Linked DNA regions of Homo sapiens: regions 1 and 3 are each linked to region 2. The links are contacts of gene promoters, found by promoter capture Hi-C in blood cells and fetal thymus (Javierre and others, 2016). All regions are on one chromosome and are shown on one strand. Each heading gives the region's core, a stretch centred on a gene start or on the middle of the fragment in contact. The rest is flanking DNA. Distances are from core to core; before and after follow the strand shown.

Evidence for each region. The method cuts DNA at HindIII sites, captures the fragments that hold promoters and counts their contacts. A CHiCAGO score of 5 or more calls a contact.
Region 1: a fragment that was not itself captured here is called in contact with the fragment with the promoter of LITAF in region 2 in 6 of 17 cell types (activated CD4 T cells, total CD8 T cells, naive CD4 T cells and 3 more); the score reaches 9.4 in activated CD4 T cells.
Region 3: a contact is called between a fragment that was not itself captured here and the fragment with the promoter of LITAF in region 2, in 1 of 17 cell types (activated CD4 T cells). The highest score is 6.7, in activated CD4 T cells.

The regions. Positions count from the first base shown.
Region 1 is chr16:10,956,370-10,959,069 of GRCh38, reverse strand. It overlaps CLEC16A (C-type lectin domain containing 16A), which reads right to left. Exons shown (of 24, transcript NM_015226.3): 2 at 1,160-1,288. Among named protein-coding and RNA genes, the nearest start is that of CLEC16A, 13 kb to the right of the region's middle. The HindIII fragment of the contact is 8,463 bases long and covers 1-2,700 here.
Region 2 is chr16:11,585,483-11,588,182 of GRCh38, reverse strand. LITAF (lipopolysaccharide induced TNF factor) reads left to right here and starts at 1,264. Exons shown (of 4, transcript NM_001136472.2): 1 at 1,264-1,297. RefSeq lists silencers at 911-1,390, 1,421-1,500 and an enhancer at 2,401-2,510. The HindIII fragment of the contact is 18,010 bases long and covers 1-2,700 here.
Region 3 is chr16:10,936,084-10,938,783 of GRCh38, reverse strand. CIITA (class II major histocompatibility complex transactivator) reads right to left here. Exons shown (of 20, transcript NM_000246.4): 20 at 2,390-2,700. All of the region lies in intron 1 of DEXI (Dexi homolog), which reads left to right. Among named protein-coding and RNA genes, the nearest start is that of DEXI, 5.0 kb to the left of the region's middle. The HindIII fragment of the contact is 5,264 bases long and covers 1-2,700 here.

The DNA.
Region 1 (2,700 bases), core at 116-2,615, 630 kb after region 2:
CAATATTTATAATACAGACACACACACACACACACACACACACACACACACACACCCGTGTTTAGTGGTTGTCATAACCCAGCCCCAAATCCTTCTGCACTAAGACATCAAGGCAGATCTATTAGGGAGGTAGTTCACAGTTAACAGCCCTTGCTATTTTTTTTTTGAGACATGGTCTCACTCTGTCACCCAGGCTGGAGTGCAGTGGCAAGATCATGGCTCATTGCAGCCTGGACCTCCTGGGCTCAGGCAATCCTCCCACCTCAACCTTCTGAGTAGCTGGGAACACAGGCACACACAACCATGCATGACTAATTTTTTAATTATACGTAGAGACGAGGTCTCTGTATGTTGCCCAGGCTGGTCTCAAACTCCTGGGCTCAAGCGATCCTCCTGCCTCAGCCTCCCAAAGTGCTGGGATTACAGGTGTGAGCCACCGCGCCTGGCGGCCCTTGCTTTTTAACTGTCCAGTGAGGCACGTCTGTCTTTATCATTTGCTATCATTTATTCCTGTACCAGGCACTAGACAAAGAGAACTTTTTCTCTCTCTTTTAAAGGTAAAGAAACTGAGGCTTAGGGAGATGAAGAGCCTGGCTGAGGACTGCTCACCTAGGAAGTGGTGAGTTGCGGGACCCCTCACTGATTCTGGGTGTGTCACTTTTCCACCGCTTACCAGCTATGTGACCTTGAGCAAAAAAGGGGACACCAACAGGGCCTCTACCATGGGGTGGGTGGGAAACTTAGGTGGACCATCTCATCAGGAGCTCAGCCCTGTGCCTGGTCATCAGTAAACATGGTAACTGGGAGCCCTCAGGGACTCCCCCAGGGCACAGGCCTTCTGTTCATGTCAAATCTAACCACCAGACATGTTCTCCTTCCTTTGGGAAAATAATCAGACACAACCTGAAGGAAAATTACCCATGACATTTTCAGGTTTTCTAGAGACACTCATTTCCATAACTTCCCCATTTTTGGCTTGCATTTCTATAGTGCTTCAAGGGCATTTTTTTTTTTTTTTTACAGCTAGACAGAGATAGATATCTAGGCAAGATCAAATTAGCGTCAAATCCTGACATCATCCAGAATGACTCATAGTATACATTTAGAAAAACATTCAAAGAAGAATAATCAAAGAACAGCAATCATTAGAAACCCTTACTCAAATACAGAGCTGTCATTTTGATCTCCCCAGATCAGGATCTCAGTGATGGAACGGATGGTCTCCACTAGCAGGTTCCGGTTCTGTTCTGTGACTGTGGTGTTTTTGGTCAAAACGTGGTACAGATACCTGAGAGAAATGAGAGAAAAGGAAATTAAAGGTTACCAACTGAAATGCAAGCCAAGTTCCATGACCATTAGCAATATTTTGGAGACAATGCAGCAATGCTTTTTCAGGTTTGGGTAATGCAATTTCCCATTCAGATTAGATGTAACTCACAACCCCAGAAAAATAGCAGACAATGCTTTGAAGGGTTAAACCAAGGACACACCAACCCAGACGGAGACAAGAAAATCGTCAAACCCTTGAAGTCAACTACTCTCAAACTGCAGTGTGCAAGAGAACCACCCGGAGAACTGAATCAAGTGGGGGCTCCTGGAGCCCCCTCGGAAATTCAGATTCAGCAGGACTGAGAGAAGAGCAAGTAGCCACCTGTTTCATATGCTTCCCATCATGTTGATGCCTTCAGAGCAAGTGGGGACATACAGCTCAGGCTGGATGCCTAACACGGGGCCTGCAGCCAGGCTAATGTTGAGGTTTAGAGAGATGGAGCCACAGCTTAGGAAGGCTGGGTCCCACAGCAGTTGCTGGGACAAAAATCACATGCAATTCCCCTTGGAATGCTCACAATCCTTCTCAAGTGCAGTGAGCCCATCAGAACTTATGGCTCAAATGATCTGGGTGGTTTGCAGCCCAAGGGCAATGGTCTTATTTGCTGAGAACAGATTGTTAAATTCACTGAGTTAAATGGGCTGGCTGGGAGCGGTGGCTCATGCCTGTAATCCCAGCACTTTGGGAGGCCAAGGTGGGTGGATCACCTGAGGTCAGGAGCTCAAGACCAGCCTGGTCAACATGGCGAAACCCTGTCTCTACTAAAAATACAAACATTAGCTGGGTGTGGTGGCGAAGTCTGTAATCCCAGCTACTCTGGAAGCTGAGGCAGGGAGAATTGCTTGAACCTGGGAGGTGGAGGTTGCAGTGAGCCGAGATCACACCATTGCACTCCAGCCTGGGTGACAGAGCGAGAGTCTAAATAAATAAATAAATAAATAAATAAGGGCTGCAGAGGCTATGGTGCTGTACTTCATCTACCCAAACAGGCCTGAATGCCAGGTGCTGGAGCTGAGACAGGTAGACACCTTCCAGTCCTCAAGGCCTCTTTGCTGGTGGGGGAGACCAAAAGAATCACCGAGGCCAGTCCTGAGCAGCGCGGGGACCAGAAGCCTAGCTGGATGCCCTGGGAGTGCCACCGGGCACGGCTTTTAAGATGGCTTCTCCAGGGCCCACAGCCCCAGGTAACTTCACCTGTCAAGGGAGCTCAGGCTTGAGAAGGAAAAGCAGACACCAAGAGGAAGTGACTCAGGAAAAGGGCCCTCCTCTCCTGATTTCTTTTATGGCTAACTTCAGTTTTCAGGGCTGGGGGTCTGGTGAGAGCAAGGAAGGAAACGTCTAGATAGGATTGTCCCATCTACAATCTCTAA
Region 2 (2,700 bases), core at 15-2,514:
CCCACACTAATAACATCTACATGGGAACCTCCTATGCTTGGGAGAACTTTGAAATCCCTTCCAACTTGGTAACTCGTCCACGGCTGAGGGTGGCCCGTCAGTGGACATGGCGCAAGGTGGCAAGAACTTGGGGCTGGGGACACTTTGCTGAGGGACCCGGGACAAGCCACACTCCCTATCTGGGCCTCACTATCTTTAGGACCTCGGGTAAAGGCATGGGATTTGGGCACCGGAGGGTTCTAAGATCCAGGTCTTTGCCAGCATGGGGCTCGGAAGCTCCCTGTCCAAATGGCGTTTGTTTGTGGATGGCCACATCATGGTTCTGCCCATCTCCTGACTCTGTGTACTCTGAAAGCCAGGCATGCTTCTTAATTCCCTCTAATGATTTCCCAGAGAGCCTGCTGGATCCAGGCTGCTGCTGTTATCACTGCAGCCGGCCGATGGGGCTCCAAGCAGACGGGCAGATGGCACCCATTTAGGGGCGGATGTGAAATGGGGCTACTGATTTCCAGAGCTTGCTTTCAGTGATGGCTGAGAAAGGCCTACCTGGCGGCACGGACCACCCTGGGGGCACAAAGCGGACAGGCAGCTGATAAGCCTTACCTAATACCTATCCTGTGCTAAAAACTTTACCATCTTCCCAGTTCACTCCCAGTCGGTCTTAGGAGACAGGACCGCTATTGTGCCCATTTTGCAGACAGGAAGCCGAGCTCAGAGAGGATGGGTAACATGCCCGAAGGCACAGAGAGTGTCTTGGTCTGTCCGGACGCGTCTGTAGAGTTACAGGAAGAGAAGGGCCGCCCTCCAGAGGGCCGGGAGCGCCCCAGCGCGGGTCCGGGGTCGAGGTTGGTGGTCCCGCCGCCTGGAAGTGGTGGAGCGGCGCGGGGAGGGGGGAAAGTGGGGAGAGCCGCGAGCGGCAAATCAGGAGGGAGGGCCAGGCTGTCGGGGGCGGACGGGTGGGGCTGGCACCGAGAGGCAGGGGCAGGATAGGAGAGTGGGGGAGACACCAGGTCCGCGCCAGGCGTCTCGGGGGTAAGCCTGGGAAGCTCTGGGGTGGCGAGCGAGCCGGGTGTGGGATGGAGCCTGGGGGCGATCAGAGTGAGGCGGGGAACCGGCGGTGGTCTCGCCTGGGGCCCAGGTGCGGGCCGCGGGGGCGGGAGAAGCCGGAAGCCCAAGCCGGCCGCGCTCCGCCCCGGCGGGTCCAGCCCCCGCCCCCGTCCCCGCCGCCCGGCCCTTTTCTCGGGGCGCCCGAGAGGCCAGCTCAGACCTCCCGGCTCGACAGGCGGCGCGGGCGGCGGTGAGTGCGGCGCGGGGACGCCGGGGCGCGGGGACCAGCGGGAGACAGCGGGGGGCCGGTGGCGCCAGCACCTGCTGGGGGCCCCGGGCACTGAGCCCTTGGCTGGGGCCTCCTGGGATGCCAGGGGGCGCGGGTCGGGTCGCGGGCATCGAGGCGCGGCGGAGGGCGTGGGGGCCCGGCCGGGGCGGGGTCCGGCCTCCCAGCGCTGGTCCCGGCCGCGTCTCCGGTTGGGTTCAGCTCCTGCGTCCCAGAGTGGCCCGATCGCGCGTGGCGGGGTCGTCCGGCCCCCACCCGAACGAGCGCCCTTCGCGGCCCGCCGCGTCCCCCTCCCCGGAGAGGACGGCCCCTGGGCTTTTTAGAAAAAGGCGCGATTCTCTCTAGTGACTCAGGTTGAGATTTCCAGAAATATCCCCCGGGGGTTCAGAAACAAAACCAAAACAAACAAAAAAACCCCAACGAATTCCCAAATGCTATTTGCCAAACATTTGACTTCTAGGGGCGCGGGTACCCGCGTTTCTCTCCCTGCCCCCGCGACTTCGCGCAAGATCCGGGAAGGACACCCGAGGCCCCTGGGAGACCCTGGGGAGGTGAAAATCAGAGAGCGAAGCGGGCCGTGGCCCCTAGGCCTGACCCCTCCCCGCGGGGTAAGGCGGGCACCCCGCGAGCGCAGGGGTCCTCTTACTGCTGATGGCACCCAGCTCTGGGCCCAGACGCCGCTCACCGTCCACCGCCGGTGCTGGGTAGGTGCTGGTGGGACCAGCTGGTGACTGGTGGCAGAAGTGGATCTCGCCCCTCCCTGCCAAGCTAGGCAAATACCCTCCCCGCTCTGGTTTGCAGGTCACTGTGGATAGGTGGTCAGTTGGTGGTGTGCCCGAAGCTCTTCGGGGTCAGGGAGAGGAGGTGATAGGGGAAAGGTGTATGTTCTGGAAGGGCCAGTCATGCTTCAGGGACCAGGCTAGTTGGACCTTCACTGGTTTTCTACTTCCCGACAGTGGAGCTGATGTCACTGGCTGTTGGACTGAGCAGTGGTCACTGGGAAATCTACAGTTTGTGGAAGCCACGGGGTCTTCCAAGCTCCTACCAGTCTTCCCAAAGAGGATGCCTCCCTCCCCTTGGCCTGGTGCACTGGTGCTGGTTCAAAGACTGTCTGAAGCCCAGCTTGGGGTCCTCTTTAGGAAAGCCATGATTTGCCTTAATGTGTGCTTGGCTGCTTCATCTGCCCTCTCACCCCCTGCCTTCTCAGAGTGACTCTTTTTAGGACTTCCTATTTAGGACTAACCCAGATGCCTACAGAGAGAAGTGCAGGCTGGTATCTGGAATTCCACCAGTGTTTTGGTTTTATCAGTTGGAGCAGGATCTAGATGGCGTGTGACTTGCTTTACCTGGCATAGAGTAACACCCAT
Region 3 (2,700 bases), core at 102-2,601, 650 kb after region 2:
GGGTGTCAGGGCCTGACCCTGGGAAGTGGGGAGGCCTGGAGAAGTGGTGGAAGCCATGCACAGCCTTCCCTCCTCCCCACCCTCAAATCCAAGCCAAGGAGGCCTTGCCCCCAAGTGCCGAGGAAGCTCAGAACCCCAGGGTATGAGAGGGGTAGCTAGCAGCAGGGAAGCCGCCAGGAAAGACCTCAAGATGATCTGACCGAGCCTCATCTCCAGGCCCCTTTCCATAAGCAGGGGAACGCCGGTAGTCAGTCCTGCTCTTTCTCAGCCATTCTCATGTGGTCACATGTGTTCCCCACACGCCAATCCAGGAAACAGTGACTAAGGGCGTGGAGCATGTCACACAGTGGGGCCCAGGATGAATCTCAAGATGAACAGGTGCACCTACTTTTGCTCCCTCTTTTTTTTTTTTTTCTCTTATGTGTGGACCCACATAATTCAGTTCCTCAAACATTTGCTGAGCACCTACTTGAGGAGGCAGTATTAGGGTCATGGTTAAGAGCCAGGGCCCTGGGTTCACATCCCAGGGTAGCTGTGACCTTGGGCATGCTGCTTAACCTCCCTGTACTTTGGTTTCCTCTTCTAGAAGATGGAAATAATGAAAATCTCCCTTGTTGTGAGGATTAGGTGAGATATACATAAAGCACTTAGATCTCCTTGTATATAGTAAGAGATGTATTAATATTAACCACTCATATTCATAGTCGGATACAATGGAAAGCGTGTTATACCCATGCCCTTGCAAATGTACAAACCTGCACCTATACTCATGCATGAATATTTATATCCTGTGAGCAGAAGAGGACAGGCTGCCTGAGTGCCAGGGAGGTCCAGGTCTAGCCTAGCTGGGGGAGACTTCCCACTCTGCCTTCCCAGCCCCAGGACCCTTAGGAGAACTTTCTTGCTGCCCTGTGGTCCCCAGGGCACCAGAACCCTGGATAGCCGGCTCTGTGGTTTTCCTAGAGTGTTAATTGTTGCCCAGGAGCAGGGAATGGGGAATCGGGAGCTCCCTCCTTCCCAGGAGAAAGGGCTGCAGTGGCTGGCCTGGGAGCCAGGGAGAGTCTTCACGTCCCAGCAGTTCTGGTGCAGAGGCAGCTCAGTTGGATTATTCGTCCCGGTTCCTAATGAAAGTGAAAGCTGCTGGTACCTGCCAGCCCTCTCTTGGCACACAGCGAGCTGAAAATGCAGAGACTGGAGAACGTTGCCACCAGAGTCAGCTTGTCCTGGTGCAGCTCAGATTTGGAGCTGAGGGTTATCGATGCATTGGTCTATCTTATTCCAGGATTTCCTAGGCTTCAGTTATCTCCCAACTAGGAACCACAGCTGCTCCTTCCTAACCTGGTCCCTCCTTGCCAATCTGTGGCCTGTGCTATCAGCAGAACCCCTGTGCCGGACATAGAGCTGCCCAGGTCAGAAACCCAAACCTTCCACAGGGACACAGTCAGATTTGAGTTATGGGAGATCCCACAGCCAGGGGTCAGGGCGGATGCAGGAAACCAGGCCAGGAAGCTGTGGCTGTCATCTAAGCAAGAGACAGACAATGGTGACACAGGGAGGCAAGTATACCCCCAGGCCTGGCCACCTCTCCAGCTCTGCTCCTGACATGAGGCTCACCCAGAAGGTCCTTGGCCATAGGGTACATTGGTGCCAGCTGCGTCTTCAGACAGGAGAAAACCCCAGTATGTGTCTCAAGACAGTGAGATGTCAAGAGTCCTGCTCTCTTAGCCCTGAATTATACAAACTGGAGATTTCAGCCAAGAAACAGGCAGGGTCTGCCCCACTTACAGCTCATGTGTCTGTTTTGCCGAACTAAGAAAGTGAGGGCTTCTCTCAATTTGGATATTCATATTTCTGGTTTATCTGCTAGCTTTCCTCCCAGAACTTCTGAAAGCATACTCGGCTTTTGGGAAACCTAAGATCACAATAAAAGTGGCAGACCTCTTTATCCCTGTCTCACAAATAAATGGAGGCACAGAATGGGGAAGTGGAGGCCGAGGGAACAAAGCCAACTAAGACTGCCAGCCCGGTTCCCTGGCCACAGCACTGAGGGTTTGAGGGGTGCCTCCAGTGAGGGCTCCCCATCCCCGACCTTGGAACACCAGCTCATAGTTTCTGCCAGGCCTATTTCATACGCACTCTTCCAACTTTTTCCTGAATTAAAAACAAACAAACAAACAAAAACCTCTGTTATGAAGTAATTTCACACTTACAGAAAAGTTGCAAGAGCACAAACAATGCCCGCCCAAACTCACCAGTTGCACCAGTTAGCACTTTGCTCATGTACACGTGCATGCTCTTCCCTCTGTTTGTATATGCATGCCTGTGTATATGCACACATGTGTATATGTGTAATTTTCATAAGCATTTGAAAATGGGTTCATTATGCACCTTTACTCCTAAATAATTCAGTATTTATTTCCTTAGAACAAGGACAAATTTGCATAACCACAGTAGGGTTGTCAAAATCAGCAAATCTAATATTGATACACTATACAATCCTATGACCAATCTCATCTACAACTTTATTCAAATTTTATAGAGGCTGAGGTGGAAGGATCACTTGAGTTTGAAACCAGCCTGGGCAACATAGTGAGACCCCGTCTCTACAAAAAGTAGGAAAAAAAAAATAGCGAGGTGTTGTGGTACACGCCCATAGTCCCAGTTACTCGGAAGGCTCAGGCAGGAGGATTGCTTGAGTCC